Linked DNA regions of Homo sapiens: regions 1, 2 and 3 are each linked to region 4. The links are contacts of gene promoters, found by promoter capture Hi-C in blood cells and fetal thymus (Javierre and others, 2016). All regions are on one chromosome and are shown on one strand. Each heading gives the region's core, a stretch centred on a gene start or on the middle of the fragment in contact. The rest is flanking DNA. Distances are from core to core; before and after follow the strand shown. Region 1 holds the start of LOC101927272 (a long non-coding RNA gene). Region 2 has its middle 5.3 kb from the start of NOD2. Region 3 has its middle 30 kb from the start of SNX20. Region 4 holds the start of HEATR3 (HEAT repeat containing 3).

Region 1 (3,233 bases), core at 1-2,500, 600 kb after region 4:
GCCCAAGAGAGGCCTGCTGGGGATGTGTTGGGAGCCAACCTACCCCTACCAGCAGGTGGAACTGGTTTTGCCACTCCAAAACAGAGTTCCAGCTATGGGGACAGCCACTAGAGAGCAGAGCTAAGGGCATTCTAGGCCAAGGGGTCACAGTCCACCCTGAACTGTGCCTCCCAGCCTGAAGCCAGAAAGCTCAGGGAGGCTAGCGGCCCTGCCCAGGCCTCAGCACTGACCCTGCACCCCTAGGCCCAGCTGGATGACCCCTAAGAGCTTCCTGGAATTTGGATGCAGGGTTATTCTGTGTGTGCTGCCTCTCAGAGCATGTCACTTTGACGTGGACATCTCGGGTCTGGTTCTGGTGCTGTCCCTGTCTCGCCACGTGACCCTGGATAAGTCATCTCTCCAGGCCTTGATTTCCCCATCTGTAAACAGAGGTGAGTGAAATGATCTTTAAAGGCGTGTCAGTCCATTTTGCATTGCTATAAAGGAATACCTGAGGTTGGGTAGCTTATAAAGAAAAGAGGGTTATTTGGCTCACAGTTGTGCAGGTTGTACAGAAGCATGGCACCAGCATTGCTTCTTGTGAAGCTTCAGGAAGCTTCCACTTATGGTGGAAGGGGAAGGGGGAGTTCGTGACTTACATGGCAAGAGAGGGAGCAAGAGCCATGTCAGGCTCTTCTAAACAACCAGCTCTCATGTAAACTAACAGAGTGAGAACTCATTCATTACCACGGGGAGGGCACCAAGCCATCCATGAGGGACCTGCCCCCATGAGCCAAACATCTCCCACCAGGCCACACCTTCAACACTGGGAGTCACATTCAGCATGAGATTTGGAGGTGACCACCATGCATCCAAACCATATCAAGGACCCATTTCGGTGAGGGGACCAGGAACATATCCCTTCCCCTCTCCTCCACATCCTTTAATGTGGAGTTCAGCAAGGAAAGTAGGGCTTGGGTCAAATTAAAGCCTGGTCTTAATTTCCTGGTCCAGTTATTAGCTGTGTAACCCTGGGCAAGTCACTTAACCCCCTCAGGTTACAATGTTACAAATGATCACATTTTCCTCAACTGAAAAATGGGATAGGAACATGTCCCAAGCAGAGCTGGAGTGACGGTGCTATCAATGGCCCGGCAGTGCCTGGTCACACAGTAGGCCTGGGGAGCCCTGACTTTTACCGCACAGGGAGCTGCTTGCAGAGCTTGTTTTCAATTGTGGGCTTGGCAGGGAACTGCCGGCATCCCAGGGGACAGGGTCTCATGAGGATGCCTAATCCCAGCTCAAAGTGGAGACCCCAGGACTCCATCACAGCCAGTGGGGGGGAGTGGCTGCTGCAGCAGGGAGGGCTTCATTGGAATGAACCCCTTTAAGCTCCAGTCCAAATGCCCAGAGTGGTTTTGCAGGTATGGTTGTGAGGCTGGCATGGTAGTCCCATCTGCAGTCCCCTGGGATGAGGCACCTGTATGGTAGAGGGCCCGGGTGGAGAGAAGAGAAGGATGGGGATGAACCCAGGACCACAGATGGCCCAGTTCCATGGATGATTTTCATTGAGGTGCCTTCAAGTCAGTTCAACACTGGGCTTCTCAACCTTTGAGGTATGCAGGTAAGAGTCACCTGCGGCAGTGGGGGATGCTCTTGTTAAAGTGCAGACTCCGATTAAGCAGGTCTAGGGTGGGGCCTGAAATTCTGTGTTCCTAACAAGGCTCCATCCTGGGTATGGAGGTCAGGTACCCCCTCACCTCTCCTGTGGACCCAGCTTTTGAGGGGTCAGGAGAAGAATGTTCAGTCCCAGCTGCCACCACTCTAAAGTCCCCTAGAAACAAGGACTAATACAGGTGGCGTGGGAGAGGGCCCAGGCAAACAGGGAGGTGGGGTACCCCGGTGGGGCTGCAGTGGGCCCTGCGGAAAGCTTGCTGGAGGTGGGGGCCTAAGGAATTCAAGGACTTGTTCCAGGAACCCAAGGAACGAGTGGGCTCTAACTGCTGCAGCATATGGGAGATGCCAGGAGGAGCTGGCTGTGGCAGGCCATCCCAGTCCATCAGACAACTTGTAGTGGATGAAGATGCAGTGTCCATGGCCAGAAGAAACTCCCGTGGATGCTCAGGCCAAGGCTGCCAGAAGCACGAGGAGGGGCAGCATTGAGTGTCATCGGGAAAAGGCAAAGTGATGGTCCTGAAGCTGCCCCATGTGGCCAGTCCCTTTTTGGGAAGCCTGAATAAATCCATTTCCTGTGCACTGTGTGGGAAGCCAACCCCTCTTCAGAGGTACTTATGGGGAACCCCCCATGTGATTCTATAGGCTCCTTTACTCCCATATAAGTATTTTCTCTCTGTGTGCACCCCCCGCCCCACCCCCCCAACACCCCACACATATCATCTATCTGTGATTTTGAGATGACTTTTTTTTTTCACATTTCAGCACCTCTGAACTCAACAGGATCCTACACTTCTTATAGGCCTGGCTTGATGCTGACATCCTTCAGCCCCAGGGAAGACCTAAAGATCTCCAGGTCTTGAGGCACCTGGAACACCTCCACCTGAGACCACTTTAACATGATTTCTCTGCTTGAGGGATTTTGGACCATGCTGTGTGTATTCAGCCCTAAAACATGGGCGAGTGCCCGCTTGCAGTTCAAATTCTCAGAGGAAGTTCCCTGTACTCCACCCAGTGCCAAGTTTAGTTTGTGCAAATTTCCTTAATGTCCCCTCCTGTACAACAGGCTTATTTGGTGTTAACCCTCATATCGGGGGTCTAACTCTTTGCTTTTCCAGCTTTTGTGCTGGAATATCCCATTAAACTGTCCATGTTGGGTATTTTTTCTTTGTTAGTAAACATTTGTTGCATATTGTTGATAGCATTTTAGATTTGAAGAAATAACTGACAAAATCAATATCATCTGTTTCATCATTACAAATAGACTCATAGCTCTTTAATTTTTCCATTTAACACTTTAATTTTCCATAGGCCTAGATTTTCAAGAAGTCCAATATCTCTCACTTGAAGTGTCTTTTCCCTGGAGTAGATTGGGAGATTTGAGGGATATCTGTCCAAAGATGAGACAGTCTGTTTCTAGTTTCCCATCCAGCCTGATGGGGCGTCTACAGTTTTTACCACAAGGTGTCGCTGTTGAACAGATTCTGGTGCAGTCTAGTGCATAGCTGTCCACTTCTAGAGTGATCACTTGCTGGGCCAAGTTCCTCTCCTTAAGTGGTGTCTCACATTAAGGTTCCCAA
Region 2 (2,900 bases), core at 108-2,607, 620 kb after region 4:
TGCAGGCACGTCAGGTTCCCAGGCTGGAGGCTGCTCTGTGGAGAGCTGCCTGCTCCAATGTGTCCTTCTTTCAAGCATTGTCCCTCTGTCAGTAAGTCACCCATGGATAGGGCGCAGTGGCTTACGCCTGTAATCCTAGCCTGGGAGGCTAAGGCAGGCAGATCACCTGAGGTCAAGGGTTTGAGACCAACCTGGCTAACATGCTGAAACCTTGTCTCTACTAAAAATACAAAAATTAGCTGGGCATGATGGCATATGCCTGTAGTCCCAGCTACCTGGGAGGCTGAGACAGGACAATCGCTTGAGCCCAGGGGGCGGAGGTTGCAGTGAGCTGAGATGGCGCCACTGCACTCCAGCCTAGGCAACAGAGTGAGACTCCACCTCGGAAAAAAAAAAAAAGTCACTCTGAAAACAGACTTGGCCAAGCACTGGGCCAGAGGCTGAGGTCCAGCAACAAGGAAGGGACAAGGAAGGGATACCTTGAACCCTCAGAGACTGGTGATACACAGGACGGACACATGGAACTTGGGCCAACAGTGTTGGACCGTCTCGGCTGATGGCCAACAGGAGAACAGGCAGGCTGATCTTTGCAGCTGAGAGGACTGGGAGAGCCCACAGGGACTGTGGGGTCTGGAGAGCTTCCTTGCAGGAGGTGGGCATGGAAGGTCCAGATAAAAGCAGGTAGAGAAGGACGTGGACTTGACTCATAGTCCCACCATTCCATAGCTGGGTCATCTTAGGAAATTCATGATCCTCTTGAAACCTCCGTTTCTTCCTGTCAAAGATGGGGATGAGGAATGGAACCTATTCCATAGAGGTGTTGTGAGAGTACACGGCGTGGCATATGGCAAGTGTTCAATAACATATTCACACTGTGGTGTGCTCACTGTTTACCAGGCACCGAGTCCTAGTGTATGCATCCCTCATGACAAGATCTAAGTGGACTGTCATCCTCACTTAACTGTGAGGGAGACTGAGGTCAAGAGAAATGAAATGACTGGCCAAGAGCATACAGCCGCTAAGGAGCAGGGCTGGAATTCAAATCCAAGTTCGCTGGGGCCAGAGTCCTTGCAGTTGCCACCTGTTGCCTCTGCCTGGGGCACAGAGTGAGCAGAAGCTCACAGGTGGGAGTACTGAGAGCTGCGGGAAGTTGGTGAAGCTAGGGGTGCAGAGATGTGGGGAGGGAAAGCCATTCCTGTCTTCATCCATTTGGGCCAGCTTGTGGAAGTGTTTGGACTTTGGTGAGTGGGCGGGCTGCTTGGAGCAGAGGACCACCAGCGTGGAGACTGCAGCCCACTATGAGGCCGGGTTACCACCACTGTCAGCAGCAGCAGCCGCCGTCGGTCCTGGGCTGAGCTCCTACTATCCAGGCCTGCTGATGGGGGCAGTCCTCGCTCCTGGGGGAAGTGCTCAGGCACAGGCAGCTTCCCGGCCTGGAAGAATTTTGAATGACACAATCCAAGGATTTCTCTCCTCTGAGGCCCGGGGGATTCTGGAAGCATTTTCCCTCCGCCTCTTCTGAGCACTTCCTGCACGGTGCCCATGTCAGAGCACTCAAGGACAGAAATGTCTCCAGGGCATCCCAATTGCCTGTCTCGGCAGAGGGCCCTGCACACAGGGAGTTTTTAATCAATATCCCTTAACTCATTGGAAAGTTTTAAAAAATTATTATTAAACAAGTAAATTATGCTTATTAGGAAATACAGGTTAACACAGAAGAATTTTAAAAGTCCAGTTAAAATCCGATCCTAACTTGTCTTTTAGATGTTTCAATGCATATATTCACACATATCTATTACAGAATTTTTGTATAAAGTATGAGGTAGTAGTCCAAATTCATTTCTTTTGCACGTGGATATCTAGTTTTCCCAGCACCATGTGTTAAAGAGATCATTTTTCCCCTTTGAATTATCTTGGCATCCTTGTTAAAAAACAACCTACTCTTTAAATTTAGCCTTATATTCTTTCTACACAAAGCATTTGGCAGCCCAACTGTTTTTCATTGAGATATAATTCACATACCATAAAACTCACCCTTTTAAGGTGTGTAATTCACTGGTTTTTAGTCCATTCACAAGGTTGTGTAACCATCACCATGATCTAATTCCGGAATATTTTCATCATGCAAAAACAAAACAAAACAAAACAAAACAAAAACCAAACCTCATGCCCACTAGCAGTCACTCCTCATTCCTCCCTCCTCTCAGTTCCTGGCAACCAACAAATCTACTTTCTGTCTTCATGGGTTTGCCTATTCCGGACATTGCATGTAAACGGACTTACACAATAGATGTCATTTTGTGACTGGCTTCTTTCACTTAGCATAATGTTTTCAAGGTTCATTTATGTTGTAGCATTTATCAGTACTTTGTTTTTTTCACAGCTGAATAATATTCCATTGCACAGATAGATCACATTTTCTTTATCCATTCATCAGCTGAGGGACATTTAGTTTGCTTCCACTTTTTCCTCTTATGAATAATGTTGCTATGAACATTTGTGTACAAGCATTTGTGTGCATATATGCTTCAATTCTGTTGAGTATACCTAGGAGTAGAATTGCTGGATCATATGGTAACACCATGTTTAACTTTATGAAGAACCCACAAACTATTTTCCACAGTGGCTTCACCACTTTACGCTCTAACCACCAATGTATGAGGCTTCCAGTTTCTCCACATTATTTCCAGCACTTGTTTTCTGTCCTTTGGACTAAGGGCACCTTTGTGAGTGTAAAGTGGTATCTTATGGTGGCTTTGATTCACATTTCCCTAACAATTAATGATGTTGAGCGTCTTTTCATGTGCTTGTTGGCTACTTACATACGTTCTCTGAACATTTTCAAATCCTTTGCTCATTTAAAAAGTTGTTTGTTATTGAGTTTCAGGAGTCCTTTATAT
Region 3 (2,852 bases), core at 317-2,816, 590 kb after region 4:
GCTCACACCTATAATCCCAGCACTTTGAAAGGCCGAGACGGGTGGATCACCTGAGGTCAGGAGTTCAAGACGAGCTTGGCCAACATGGTGAAACCCCGTCTCTACTAAAAATACAAAAAATTAGCTGGGCATGGTGGCAGGTGCCTGTAATCCCAGCTACTCGGGGGGCTGAGGCAGAAGAGTCTCTTGAACCTGGGAGGCGGAGGTTGCAGTGAGCTGAGATCACGCCATTGCATTCCAGCCTGGGCAACAAGAGCAAAACTCCGTCTCAAAACAAAACAAAAAACAAAAACAAAAACGCCAATCTGACCATGGCACTTCCTACTGCAAACCCATCTCATTGCCCTCAGGACAAGGGCTCAGCTCCCAGCCCAGCAGACCAGGCCCTCAGGAGCCACTAGCTCCCTGTCTCCTGTCTCCTCCATGACTTTCTGCCTTTCCCCTCTGACCCACTGCCCTGTGCTCCCTGACAACCCTTAAACAATGGAGGACTTTCCTTTCTCTTCCAGCCCAGAATATGCTGCTCCTTCTCCCTGCAGTGCTTGTCCTCACCTCTCACCTAGCTGCTCCTGGCCTGAGCCTGGGTTCCCCAAGGCCTGGCCTAAGACAGAGACTTGGGGGTAGGTTTTTGGTAGGGTGATGCTCAAGAGAGGAGTGATGGGGCAGGAGGACAAGAGGGCAGGTGACAAAGTGACATGAGGGTGCCTTGCTGAGGTCACCATTAGAGAAAGTGGCCCTCTAGGATGAGGACAGAGTGACCCTGGGGTGTCTGGCTGCAGGGCGAAAGGCTGGAGCATGTGTCCACTGGCCCCAGCCTGAGTCTTGGGGGTGTCTCTGGGGGTGTTGATGCCCCTTCACTTCCTGCAGGACTGGAGAAGGCCCCAGGGAATGGGCAGGAAGGCCAGGTACAGTTCTGCTGGGATGAGGTGAGTCTGTGCTTGCTAGACTGTCCTCAATAGCTGCAGCTGAAATGACAGGTGGCCGTGGGTCTCTAGTACAACTGCCCCCTTCCTTCTTCAAGACCCCGCTCCTCCAGGAAGCCCTCCCTGACCCCCAAGCCTTGGGTAGATGCCCCTCCTGGGCCTCCTGCAGAGGCCTCAGATCACAGCTGCCTGTCTGCTGTCCCCACTTAGCCATAAATTTCTATAAGGCATAAATGAGATGAGGTGATGGGCTTAAAATAAGGTAATGGAAACAAAGTTGGAGCCAAGGGGAGAGAACTATAAAGACGATCTGCATTTATAGAAGGCTGTAATAGGGTTTGAACAGTCCAGGGCTTGCCGACCCATGGAGCTGGGGTTGGGGTACAGCCACTTCCTTGCTCTGGGCCCTCTGAGGTGCGAGGTGCCATGGTGCCAGAATCCCACCAGGCAAAGCCACTCTCCAGCCTTCCAGGCAAAGCACTGCCCATTTCATCCTCACAGCAACCTTAGGAGGCAGCCTTTCTTTTTTTTTTTTTTTTTTTTTTTTGAGACGGAGTCTCGCTCTGTCGCCCAGGCCGGATTGCGGACTGCAGTGGGGCAATCTCGGCTCACTGCAAGCTCCGCTTCCCGGGTTCACGCCATTCTCCTGCCTCAGCCTCCCGAGTAGCTGGGACTACAGGCGCCCGCCACCGCGCCCGGCTAATTTTTTGTATTTTTAGTAGAGACGGGGTTTCACCTTGTTAGCCAGGATGGTCTCGATCTCCTGACCTCATGATCCACCCGCCTCGGCCTCCCAAAGTGCTGGGATTACAGGCGTGAGCCACCGCGCCCGGCCAGGAGGCAGCCTTTCTATCACGTCCATTTTATTCCAGAGGACGGTAAAGCTGGGAAGTTGTGTAAGTTGTCTAAGGCATTTGACCCAATTAGGTCCAAAGACTCTCTCACCTGCTCTCTCTCTTTCTCTCTCTCCACCCCTCTTCTCTGCACATCTCCTGATCACCCAAGAAGAAGGGGCTATGGTGGACATCATACCCACTCCTGTTCCATTGGCCAAAGGAAGTCATGTGGCCAAGCCCATGGTATCTGCTGCCATCCCATTGGTCAAAGCAAGTCACATGGCCCAGGCTCATCATATTAACTTCCATCCCATTGGCCAAAGCAAGTCACATGGCCAAGCTCATCCTATCTACTCCCATCCTATTGGCCAAACTAAGTCACGTGGCTAAGTTCATCATATCCACTCCCATCCCACTGGCCAAAGCAGGCCGCACCACCAAGCTCGTTGCATTCATTCCTCTCCCACTGGTGAAAGCAAGTTACATGGTTGAGCTCATGGCATTCACTCCCATCCCATTGGCCAAAGCAAGTCACATGGCCAAGCCCAAAAGCCATGGGGTAGGGGAGCACTCTTCATGCCAAGGGGAGAGAAGAAGATGAAAGTCCACTGAAAAACAGTGACCTCCATTATATATGCAAACTCAGGGTGAGGCCCTATCTTGGGCATTAGATGAGCTGAGTTGAAGGCTCAGCATGGCCAACAATTTGCTCTGCAGTCCTGAGGAAACCGTTTCCCCTCTGTGAGTCTCAGTTTGCCCGTGTCTGCAATGGGGTTAATTACATCATAAGACACCGGCTGTTGTGAGCAGCGAGATAATCCCCAAGGCTGCTGACAGTGAGAAGGAGGGCTGCCTAGGGTCCAAAGAGATGCAAGAGGCAGTGGCCAGTTTCCTGTCCACATCATCCCCCCAACACATACTGGTTCAGATTCAGTTCCATCTGAGCTGGGCTCCAGCTTGACCAGGTACCATGATGGCAGCTGCCGCCTCACTTCCAACACCATCTCCCGGACCACATGCCTGCTCACAAACCCTTTGGAATACTTCGGAGGCCCTCAGTGGCTTCACGTCTCATGGCCGAGGGTGGATTAGG
Region 4 (3,183 bases), core at 674-3,173:
TAGTGGCTCCAAGGTTGATTTTTTTTTTTTTTTTTTTTTTGAGACGGAGTCTCGCTCTGTCACCCAAGCTGGAGTGCAGTGGCGTGATCTCGGCTCACTGCAACCTTTGCCTCCCAGGTTCAAGAGATTCTCCTGGCTCAGCCTCCAAGTAGCTGGGACTACAGGCACATGCCACCATGCCTGGCTAATTTTTGTATTTTTAGTAGAGATGGGGTTTCGCTATGTTGGCCAGGCTGGTCTTGAACTCCAGACCTCAGGTGATCTGCTCACCTTGGCTTCCCAAAGTGGTGGGATTACAGGTGTGAGCCACAGTGCCCAGCCCAAGATTGATCTTTGATAGGCCCAAATGCAACATGAGCTACACTTCTGTTACTCTCTAAAATTTGCCATAGTAATTAATTTCCCTTACTGGACAGTCAACTCTTTGACAGTAGGGTTACCATGGAATGGAAATTTTCTCCAGTAGAATGTTGACCTGAGCCTGGGCGTGGTGGCTCATACCTGTAATACTAGCACTTTGGGAGGCTGAGGCAGGCAGATCATTTGAGATCAAGAGTTCGAGACCAGCCTGACCAACGTGGTAAAACCCCGTCTCTCCTAAAAATAATAATAAAAAAAAAATAGCTGGGCATGGTGGCACATACCTGTAATCTCAGCTACTTAGGAGGCTAAGGCAGGAGGACTGCTTGAACTCCAAGGCAGAGGTTACAATAAGCCGAGATCGCACCATTGCACTCCAGCCTGGACAGCAGAGTGAGACTCTGTTTCAAAAACAAAAAGAAAAAAAGAAAATTGACCCAAAGCTATGCATATATTGAGTACTCACTCGTTACATGTCTAATTATAAAGACCACCTAAGATTCTCCTGTACTTTTCCCTCTGCTTAGTATTTACCACAATTATAACCAAAGTTATTCATATAATTATATATTCAACAGATCTCTCCCTGGACTGTAAATTCCATAAGGACAGGGAGAGAGGACAGGAACCAAACTGTCTTGATTACTGCTTTATTCCAATGCCCAGCACTGTACCTAGTACTCAACAAATATCTGCAAAAGAATCTCTTTGTTAAATACGTTTCCAAACATTTACATAGTGCTTAGTATCTGCCAGTCTCTGTTCTTAGCACCTTAAACATATGAACACATTTAGTCTTCGTAACAACTCCATGAGGTATATACTATCGATGTCCCCACTTCACTGATGAGGAAACTAAGGCAGGGAGATTAGGTTCTTAAGCGATTCTGTTTTATCAAATATAGACACACATTCGTTCCAAAACATTAACTAGTCTCTGTCTACGACAGGAGCTATGGGAGGTGCTGGGGACACAAAATAAAATCGTGGTTAATGCTTTTTGAGTACCTGCTATATATCAGGCTTGGTGTTAGGCACTTTACAGAACTTTATGAACTTTACAGAACTTACAATAACCTTGCAAGTTAGGTATTCTTAATCACATTTGATTATTTGTAGCCGGTGTTACTAACTTATTGGTTGCTTGATTGATTGATTGAGACAGGGTCTCGCTCTGTCGCCCAGGATGGAGTGCAGTAGCAGGATCACGGCTCACCTCAGCCTCAAACTCCTGGGGTCAAGTGATCCTCCGGCTTCAACGTCCCAAGTAGCTGGGACTACACACACACGCCACTATGCCCAGATAATTTTTAATTTTTTTGGTGGGGAGGACAGGGAGTGGAGTGTTTTCCTATGTTGCCCAAGATGGTCTCGAACTTCTGGCCTCAAGTGATCCTCTCGCCCGGGTCGGCGTTACTATTCTAGTCCAACCTCCTACTTACCCGGTAAACCCACAAGGCTCCGCCCCTTTGCCGAAGCTGGCCCCGCCTATGCCCTCTTCCACGCCTGCGCGCTCCGTGCGCCAGTTCCCCCCACCCCGCCCCGCCCCAACCCCGACCCGGCAGACGACGCGCCGTGCGCCTGCGCACGGCTTGCCCATGTGTGCTGCAGCCGTCAGCCGGCCCAGCTGAGCAGCAGCAACGGACCTTGTTAACGGCGCGGCAGCCTCCACCGCCTGCTGTTGCCCTCCTCTCTCGGTGGTCTGTCCGCCCAGCGCACGTCACCATGGGCAAGAGCCGGACGAAGCGCTTCAAGCGACCTCAGTTCTCCCCTACGGGCGACTGTCAGGCCGAGGCGGCTGCGGCGGCGAATGGGACCGGAGGCGAGGAGGACGACGGGCCGGCGGCGGAGCTGCTGGAAAAGGTGAGGCGAGGGCTCCGTCGGGCCGGGAGGCGAGACGAGGTTGCCCCGCGCGCGTGCGCATTGCGCGCCTTCTGACCCTTTTCGCTCTCATCCGCAGCTCCAGCACCCGAGCGCCGAGGTCCGCGAGTGCGCCTGCGCAGGGCTGGCCCGGCTGGTGCAGCAGCGGCCGGCACTCCCGGGCCTGGCGCGACGAGACGCCGTGCGCCGCCTCGGGCCGCTGCTGCTAGACCCCAGCCTGGCCGTCAGGGAGACTGCAGCCGGCGCGCTGAGGTGAGCCAGGAAGGGTGCGGGGCGGTGCCCACCGCTGGCCTCCCCCGCGTCTGGGCTGCGGGCGGTCGCAGCGGTCACCCAGCGCCTTCTGTGTGCCATCAGGCACTGGCCCGGTCTCCCGTTTGCAGAGATTTGAAGCCAGTCTCCAGGCTCCGGAGAAGCCCAGTATCCCCGCATCTCATCTGTCCACCTGGCTGCTTCACCTGCAGCGTCCACCTGCTCAGGCGTCCTGCCCTCACGCCTTGCGCACGTTTTACACTCTCCAAAAGCCCTCCTTAGGGTCCCTTGCTTGGATGAACTCTTCAGTTCATGTGTCAGGAATCGTTCTAGATGCAGGGGACTTTGAGCAGCCAAGACTTTTGAGCGAGATCTGTTGACAGCCAAGATCCCTGTCTTGGCACAAGTCATGTTGATGGGGAGACAGACAGGAAGCTAGTAAAAAGGTAAAACATAATATTAAATAGTGAGAATTGCTGTGGGAAAACGAGATGATGATGAGTTGGGGGTGGGAAGTTTGAATTGGGTGCTCTTGGGCCGGGCGCGGTGGCACACACCTGTAATCCCATTGCTTTGGGAGGCCAAGGAAGGAGGATCACTGGAGGCCAGGAGTCCAAGGCCAACCTGGGCAACATAGCAAGACCCCGTCTGTAGAAAAATTATAAACAATTAGTCGGGCATGGTGGTGGGTGC

What was found. The method cuts DNA at HindIII sites, captures the fragments that hold promoters and counts their contacts. A CHiCAGO score of 5 or more calls a contact.
Region 1: a contact is called between a fragment that was not itself captured here and the fragment with the promoter of HEATR3 in region 4, in 6 of 17 cell types (neutrophils, naive B cells, activated CD4 T cells and 3 more). The highest score is 10.9, in neutrophils.
Region 2: a contact is called between a fragment that was not itself captured here and the fragment with the promoter of HEATR3 in region 4, in 3 of 17 cell types (neutrophils, monocytes and naive CD8 T cells). The highest score is 6.1, in neutrophils.
Region 3: a contact is called between a fragment that was not itself captured here and the fragment with the promoter of HEATR3 in region 4, in 1 of 17 cell types (neutrophils). The highest score is 8.3, in neutrophils.

Annotation. Positions count from the first base shown.
Region 1 is chr16:50,668,730-50,671,962 of GRCh38, forward strand. LOC101927272 (a long non-coding RNA gene) reads left to right here and starts at 126. Exons shown (of 3, transcript NR_110908.1): 1 at 126-431; 2 at 1,954-2,264; 3 at 2,419-2,910. SNX20 (sorting nexin 20) reads right to left here. Exons shown (of 4, transcript NM_182854.4): 4 at 2,900-3,233. The HindIII fragment of the contact is 1,314 bases long and covers 594-1,907 here.
Region 2 is chr16:50,686,881-50,689,780 of GRCh38, forward strand. No RefSeq gene overlaps it. Among named protein-coding and RNA genes, the nearest start is that of NOD2, 5.3 kb to the right of the region's middle. The HindIII fragment of the contact is 3,251 bases long and covers 1-2,900 here.
Region 3 is chr16:50,649,971-50,652,822 of GRCh38, forward strand. No RefSeq gene overlaps it. Among named protein-coding and RNA genes, the nearest start is that of SNX20, 30 kb to the right of the region's middle. The HindIII fragment of the contact is 4,167 bases long and covers 1-2,852 here.
Region 4 is chr16:50,064,047-50,067,229 of GRCh38, forward strand. It overlaps HEATR3 (HEAT repeat containing 3), which reads left to right and starts at 1,924. Exons shown (of 15, transcript NM_182922.4): 1 at 1,924-2,223; 2 at 2,321-2,493. The coding sequence starts at 2,086. HEATR3-AS1 (HEATR3 antisense RNA 1) reads right to left here and starts at 2,278. Exons shown (of 3, transcript NR_186390.1): 1 at 2,007-2,278; 2 at 645-761. RefSeq lists an enhancer at 1,732-2,026 and silencers at 1,877-1,926, 2,257-2,306, 2,387-2,646. The HindIII fragment of the contact is 22,013 bases long and covers 1-3,183 here.